2 separate regions of the Homo sapiens genome follow, and region 1 is linked to region 2. Evidence: promoter capture Hi-C in 16 types of primary human blood cells and fetal thymus (Javierre and others, 2016). All regions are on one chromosome and are shown on one strand. The core of a region is centred on a gene start or on the middle of the fragment in contact, and the rest is flanking DNA. Distances in the headings are between cores, read along the strand shown. Region 1 overlaps LINC02288 (long intergenic non-protein coding RNA 2288). Region 2 holds the start of LRRC74A (leucine rich repeat containing 74A).

Region 1 (4,127 bases), core at 901-3,400, 230 kb after region 2:
ACGAGTCCCTGAACAACCCCAAGCCTCAGTATTCTCATTTGTAAAATGGGTAAAAATAGCACTTTAGTAGTCTCATTTGTAAAATTGATATCAGTACCTCAGATGATGAAATGAGATAATGCGTGTCAAGGGCCTAGCACAGCGCCTGGTGTAGGAGCCACACGTCCCAGAGGGCTGCCTGCTGGGGAAGACCGCATAATTTGAAGCCTCCTGACATAAAACAGGCTGGTTGAGGGAGGGCCCTTTCTGTCTAATACACCACTCGTCGGGACAGGATTGCAAAGGGGGCCTGGGGAGGTGAGCCCACTGGAAAACAATGTGTGCGCGCCCCCTGCTGGCTGCGAGCAGAGGTCCCGCCTGTCCGCTGGGGGTCTTCAGGTGGTTCGTGTTAGCACCACCTGCTGCTGCCGGGTCAATTGACCCAATATTCACAGATCACCCCCCAGGTGTCAGGTACCCCGCCAGGCTTTGGGAGGGATGCAAAATGAGTGAAAGATAAGCTAGGTTTTTGGAGCCAACTAGTTTTGGTGTCGACCACGCATGGGTTCAAGCCCAGAGACTATCAATATCTGCTTGAATGTTCATTCATTCAACAGAAATGGTTCTGCATCGGGATATAGCAATGAACAAAGGTCCTGGCATCGTGGACTTGCGGTAATCTTAGACAGAGAACATAATCCCTCAGAGCTTCAGGTTCTCATCTGTAGCATGGAAGACTTCTCTACTCCTTCCCCTCAAACCAGAGGGTAGAGACCCTGGGTATGGATTTCAAGGTCGCTGTCATTAGTAGGAACTAACAGTCACCACCAACAGCCATCTCTTCTCAAAGGAAACCTCATCCCTTTGAGCCTGGGCTGTCATTCATTTGGTTCATTCTGAAGGGACCCTGTCATGCCAATCTCCCCAGGCTCTCCATCTACCAGGAACCCCGGAAGACCCCCGCCCCAAGCCATTCTGCTCCAGGGCAATGATAGAGCCCTAACCTCTAATGAGAGGTCATCAGAGTGGATGTGGGAGGATCGTGCAGTTACCCTGCAACTTTCTCTCCAGGTGACACATGGGTATTTCTCCTTAAATTAATTGGACTGGTTAGCCTCAGTGCCAACCTGGTAGGAACCATCGCCTGCCCGGATTCCTGTTCTCCCCCAGACCACTGGGCAAATCCTTCATGGTTGGTAGGGCTTTAAGGGCTAGAAGAGGATAGGAAATATGTTCTTGATGACTTTTTATTAACATCCAATTTTCTACTCCCCATGGCCTTCATTACACACACACACACACACACACACACACACACACACACACACACAGCAAAGGTGAGGATTGGAAGCCAGTTGATGCTGGAGGAATGCTTTAACACCCCTATCAACACACAACCCAAGTCGGGTCCAGCTTATTCTTTCAAGATGTCCACAGTTTCACCCCACGCTCAGGATATGTATGGGTGCGTGTGCTTTTGTACACACTCATATAGCAAACTTTGAGCTATAGCCAGGTACTAGGGCAATATTAGTAAACAAAATAGACAAACACAAACACAAAATCCTGCCCCACTGGAGCATACATTTGTGTGGGGGGGGCAGGGGGGAGTCTGGGATAGAAAAGTAAATAAGCAAGTAACATAAACATGATGTTTGAGGGTAATATGTGTTATGGAGAAAACTAAAGCAAAAAAGAGGGTGCCCCAAAATGAGTGGGGGATTTTAAATGGGGTGGTCAGGGAACGTCTCATTGAAAAAGTAACATTTAAATAAAGACCAAAAGGAGATGAGAGAGTGAGCTATGAAGCTATTTGGTAGAAGAGGGTTCCAGGCAGAAGAAATGGCAAACTCAAAGATACTGAAGCATGGTCAGAGAGGCTGTCCTAGTGGGAACAAGGAGAGAGGCGATGGGAAGAGGCAGGAGGTGTTGGGCTCTATTATTAATAAATTATGGTCAGGGGTCCCCCAATCCCCTTTTCCAACCAATATAGTTAATTTCATCCCTTTTCTTAAAGTTTTGAAACTAATACCTGTCTTGTAAACAAGCCATGACAAAGCTCTATTTAGAGAAATATGGTGGGGAGAGGCTAATCAGGGTAGATTTCCTGGAGAGGGAGGTTGGCTGACTTCTTCTCTTTTCAGGTGAAGAAACCAAGACTCAGAGACAGTCAATAACTTGCCTAAGGTCACAAAGCTAGAAACCGACAGAGAAGGGCTTACATCCATGCTTATCTGGTTTAGAAGCCACTGCTCTTAGCCAGGGTGCTGCCATGGTGACAGGCCATTTCCATTAGAGGAGAATGATGGCTGTTCATCTGAGGACCTGGAACAACACGGTCTGCGTGGCCATCACTCAGTCAGGGCAGAGCATGGGTACAGAATCGTGGCATTGTTTGGCTGAGAATCATAGATTCTCAGTGAAGCACAGGCAAGGTGCCAGGCCCCAGGCATGGGGTTTTAGATGCATGATCTCATTTAACTCTCATTTTACAGATCAGGAAATTGAGGCCTGTCACGCTTCCTGATCTTGTGTGTATCAGAACAAGATCATAACAATTGACTTTCAAAAATTAGTGGCTTAAGGCCAGGCACAGTGGCTCACGCCTACAATCCCAGCACTTTGGGAGGCCGAGGCGGGCGGATCACCTGAGGTCAGGAGTTCAAGACCAGCCTGGCTAATATGGTGAAACCCCATCTCTACTAAAAATACAAAAATTAGCCAGATGTGGTGGCAGGGCCTCTAGTCCCAGCTTCTTGGGGCTGAGGTAGGAAAATCACTTGAACCTGGGAAGTGGAGGTTGCAGTGAGCCAAGATTGCGCCACTGCACTCTAGCCTGGAAGACAGAGCAAGACTCCATCTCAAAAAAAAATAAATAAATAAAAAATAAAAAAGGAAAAAGTAAATAAAAATTAGTGGCTTAAAACAGCAATTTATTATTTCTCATGATTTTGTGAGTCAGGAATTTGGGCAGGGCTTGGCTGGGTGGTTCTTCTGCTCCATGTGGTGTCAGCTGGGGTCACTCAGCTGCATTCAGCTGGCAGCTGGACTGGGAGGGAAGGGCCAAGAAGGCGTCACTTACAGGCCTGGCACCTCAGCGCTCCTCTGCATGGCCTCTCCACGTGGTCAGCATGGTGGTTTCAGGTCAACTGGATTAATTACATGGCAGCTGGGAATTATATTTCATCCAAGGGAATGAAAGCAGAAGCTGCCAGACTTAGGGACTAGCCCTGAAGTTGGGACAGTGTCACTTCCACCACTTCTACTGCCCCAAGCAAGACACCAGATCAGCCCAGATTCAATGGCAATGATGTTTTGCAGCCTGGCTGCTCCATCACAAGCACTCCTTGCTCTGGCTCCCTCTTCTCCCATCCTTTGCCCAATCCAATATAGCAATGGCAATGATGTTTTTATTTGTTTGTTTTGTTTTTTTGAGACAGAATCTTGCTTTATCACCTAGGCTGGAGTGCAGTGGCACGATCTTGGCTCACTGCAACATCCGCCTCCTGGGTTCAAGTGATTTTCCTGCCTCAGCCTCCCGAGTAGCTGGGATTACAGGTGCCCGCCACCACACCCAGCTAATTTTTATAGTTTTAGTAGAGATAGGATTTTACCATGTTGGCCAGGCTGGTCTCAAACTCTCCACCTCAGGTGATCCACCTCCCTCAGCCTCCCAAAGTGCTGGGATTACAGGCGTGAGCCACCATGCCCGGCCTTTATTTTTGTTTTTAATTTAATTTAATTTTTTGTGAGACAGGGTCTCACTCTGTTGCCCAGGCTGGAGCGCAGTGGCACGATGACAGCTCACTGCGGCTTCGATCTCCTGGGCTTACACAGTCCTCCTGCCTCAGCCCGAGTAGCTGAGACCACAGGTGTGCTCCATAGCACCAGGCTTATTTATGTATTTATTTATTTAGTAGAGATGGGGTCTCCCTATGTTGCCCAGGCTTTGTTGTTCTTTGACTTGCTTCTTTCACCTATCCATATATCCTGGCAGGGTCAGGAGCAGGGTGAGGCAAGCAGGATCCTCTGTGACCCAGAGAATGGCCCTCTTGCACTCTGTGCCCTTTCTCAGTACACGAAGGTCTGCCTCATTCTTGTTTTTTTTTTTTGGAGACAGAGTCTTGCTCTGTCACCCAGGCTGGAGT
Region 2 (4,027 bases), core at 890-3,389:
ATAACTTATAAAAAGAGTTTACAGGTATTACATTTCAGGGTTTTTAAAAAATACACATTTTTGGCCGGGTGTGGTGGCTCACACCTGTAATCCCAGCACTTTGGGAGGCCAAGGCTGGCGGATTATGAGGTCCGGAGATCGACACCATCCTGGCTAACACAATGAAACCCTGTCTCTACTAAAAATACAAAAAATTAGCTGGGCGTGGTAGCGCATGCCTGTAGTCCCAGCTACTTAGGAGGCTGAGGCAGGAGAATGGCGTGAACCCGGGAGGCGGAGCTTGCAGTGAGCTGAGATTGCGCCACTGCACTCCAGCCTGGGCGACAGAGTGAGACTCCATCTCAAAAAAAGAAAAAAAAAGAATTAAAAAAAATTATGGTCCTTAAACATTTTTATTTTTTCCAGAATTGACTATTATGCAAAAAATATTGCTGTCAACCATTCTAAAGAAAATATCTGATGATGTCACTCTCCTGTTCAAAAATCTTCATTGTCTCCCTATTGCCTTTTAATTGCATTCGGATCTCTCCCTGAAGCTGCCCTGGCCCTGGTGGCCTCCCCTTCTGCTACTCGTCTTCACAGCCTGCACTCCTATGCGGGGAGCTGCTGCCTTCCTTCATCCTGACCTCCTGGAAATGCCTTTTCCCCAGACTCTACTTGTCCAGAGCCCAAGCAAGTTCCCCAATATGAAGAAACCTCACCCTCCCCTGAACGCCCAGCGCATTTCCCCAAAGACCCATCTCAGTTTCCCTGCTGCTGTTGGATCCAGGCTGGTGGTGCCTCTATCCAGTGGCTTAGTTGGAGCACCTACCTCTAGATTTTCTCACTCACCCTTCAGTACCTGAGACCAGATGGTGCCGTCCAAGTAGAGCACCCAGAGCCCTAGACCAGGACACACATGCTCTCTGATCCCTCTTTCTCCCCCTTAATGCTTCCTTATCCTCTGCAATAGTGTGGGCCAGCCAGATGCCCTGAGGATCACCAGGACTCATGTCTACCTGATCATCCTAGGAGCTGATCACTCTCCCTGGACTGTTTGGTATTTCTTTAGAAGGACCACATGAGATTGGGCCACCAGAATGGTGCTGCCATGCCGATTTAGGGTGACTCAAATTGTTTATACAAGCAAGAACTCTACCAAAAATATTTGCCCAGGACCCTCACCCTAGGGTGGCCCTGTCAATTTCTATTATGCATTGCACATGCCTTAAAAGGGTCCTGTCTTAATCATGTCTGCATCCCTTCCCCACAGTGGTGCCTATTTTAGCGCCCGTACGTAATAGAGACTCAATATGTATTTCTCAGCATGAATGCTTGAAGGAACAAGTAACATCTCAGGTATACATATTTCTTCTGATCCATGGTTCTAATCATGTTTTCCTTGCACACATTTCTAGATCTTCCTCATTCTGAGTAGCAAAAAAAAAAAAAAAAAAAAGGAATTTTCACATCCTCAAACCCTCCAGTCACTGACCTGACCATTGATGTCCTGAAAACTTATCAAGAAAGAACAAATGTGCCTCCAGATTCTCCCGAAACCAAACTGCAACTGGACTTCAACTCCAACACATGTGAGAATGGCCGAGTGTGGGAATGCTAGTTGAACCGTCTCAAGGTAGGCAGCCCCATAGTTTGGATTGAACAATGCTTTGGCTGCAACAAACTGTAGTGATAGGACATATGTTCATTGCGCTGTGCTTTTGATCTTCAGCTCCAAGGTTAAGATGCTCTCCCACGGGGAAAAGAAAAAAGGAAGAAGAGCTGGGCAGAAGAAAACTGACTTCACCCGTCACTGAAATACTTCATACCTGAAGCACAGCTCTCTTGCGAGAAGAACATGATGGCAGCTCTTCACAGTCACCTAATTAAGGGGCTTGGGTTGGGTCCTGACTCAGAGGGAAATACAACACCACTGAGAGGAACCCCCCACAGCACCTGAGCACTCACAGCCAAGCCTGGGCTTGGCCCCAGTAGACATATGAGAACAGGTGACTGCCAGAACCACCCAGAGGGCGGGAAGCCTGCTGTTGCCAGGTCCACCATGTGAATCACAATGACTGCATGAGGTCACAGAATGTTGAAGATGAAATGAAAGTGGCTCCTGAGTCACAAAGTCACAGGCGGGTGGGGATCCTTTCAACAGGGCTCCCAGCAATAGAGCAGTCCCACTCTCCCAGATGAGCTGGAGAAGTAGCTACCTCTCCCAGACAGAGTTGGGGTCAAATTCATGCACATCCAATTCCCATCAAAGCCTACTCTTCCCAGGGCTTGCTGGGAGGGAAGGATAACTGCAGGCTCCCCTGGGATGCCCCCAGGTGAGGGAAGTTCACAGAGTTTGAGACAGAGGTGAATGGACAGGTGTGCTTCTTAGGGAAGCAGTCGAGAGGTGGCAAGAAGTTGGCAGCTGCCCTCAAGAGGGTCCTGGCACCATGGACAATGACAAGCCTCTTCAGCCTGAGACAGAAGGTGAAAGGGCATCCCATCTCTCACCACTCAGGCCCGTCCCTGCTGCCTCAGTACAACACCTAGTGATCACAGGACCCTGAAGCCCACTTCTTTCCTCACCTGGGACCCTCTAGAAGTAGGATGATTTGTTATACTGACTTGGGTTCAGGCCTTGGCAAACAGGAAGAATTGGCTGCAGTGCTATGCCACAACTACCTCATACTGGCTCTAGCCAGCTTTAATTTTTATTGTGTGGGCCAGTTGATACCACATTTATAGTTTGAAATCAGTCACATTGGGAATATTTACACCACATGAATTGGCTAACACTATAAATCAGGATGTTTTTGGTGTTGTTTGTTTTTTTTCCTGGAGAATCAATTGTTAAAATTTACCAGCATTCTACTGGTTGAATGGAATTCTAAATTGTTTGACAAGGAAATTAACACTCAGAAATTCATCACTTTTCTAAGGGCACTCAGCAGTCTGACAGCCAAGCTGTTGTCTGTCTTCTAACTACCAGGCCACTGCTACCTGCACTGTGTATCCCAGACAGTCTGGGAGATAAATGTTGGAACCTGGGTCTATGGACAAGGATTAAGAAAGACCTGCATGGACTCATTAGGAACCCCACCATCCTAGAATCTGGGTGGTCAAAACTTGGGACCCCTGCCACAAATGCTCAGCCCACCCAATGAGTAGGTTGGCTAAATTCTGACAGGTCATTCAGAGGCATGGCATGGCTTCTTGAAACTACTGAGTCCTGTCAGTGCCTAAGGATTGAGCTCTGGATTTTATGTGTGGCTTCCAGAAGCCCATGGCTTTCAGGAGCCTATGGCTGATCCCAGGTCAATGGCCCAGAGGTGGTAAAACCACATCTAGCAAGTGCAGAGGACTGGTGTGAGGGGAGCTCTGTTCCCAGCAATGAATATGATTAATTCATTACTATGAATTAATCATAGTAATTCATTTCGACCCAAGGGAGATTTTCAAGCCCCTCCTTCTTCCTAATCACAAATCAATGTTAGATTGGAAGGAAGAGAAGCTAAGTCAAATTCTTAGGAATCAAGTTCTCTCTCTTGCTCTCTGGAACTGCTCCTGGTCCATTTTATTTTCTATTTGACCTAAGTTGTCACCTCCCCTGCCCTGCCCTGCCCCTTATACTCCCTGGCACCATTTGTGCCTGACAATAAGGAAGCCTATGTATCGGGACCCACCCTTTCACCTGAAAGAGTAACAGCACACCCCAAAACCCACCCAAACACTTAAGAATGGGAAAGTGTGAGCAAGGAGCCGATCTCCAAGGCACGCCTCAGACAGGGAAGGGGGAAGGAGCAGCCGGTCTCCAGGGAGCAGAAGGGAGTTGGTTTCACAAGCTCCCGTAGACCCTGCAGCCGGAGGCAGCGCTATTGGGGAAGGGAGGTTTGTAGAGTGGACTTGCCCTGGCAGGGCTTGGCACCTTGAGGACCTGGGACTCAGAGGAAGGGAGCAGAGATGGAGGGGCGGCAGCGGCAGGCTTTATTGGGAGGCCAGCAAGTTTTATTCCTGGCATCAAGGAGATGAGTTTTTTCTTCCAGATGAG

Evidence for each region. The method cuts DNA at HindIII sites, captures the fragments that hold promoters and counts their contacts. A CHiCAGO score of 5 or more calls a contact.
Region 1: a contact is called between a fragment that was not itself captured here and the fragment with the promoter of LRRC74A in region 2, in 1 of 17 cell types (M2 macrophages). The highest score is 5.2, in M2 macrophages.

Annotation. Positions count from the first base shown.
Region 1 is chr14:77,053,096-77,057,222 of GRCh38, forward strand. The region is part of intron 1 of LINC02288 (long intergenic non-protein coding RNA 2288); the gene reads left to right. Among named protein-coding and RNA genes, the nearest start is that of LINC02288, 14 kb to the left of the region's middle. RefSeq lists an enhancer at 1-494 and a silencer at 306-355. The HindIII fragment of the contact is 7,363 bases long and covers 1-4,127 here.
Region 2 is chr14:76,824,269-76,828,295 of GRCh38, forward strand. LRRC74A (leucine rich repeat containing 74A) reads left to right here and starts at 2,140. Exons shown (of 14, transcript NM_001385106.1): 1 at 2,140-2,466; 2 at 4,023-4,027. The coding sequence starts at 2,430. The HindIII fragment of the contact is 9,425 bases long and covers 1-4,027 here.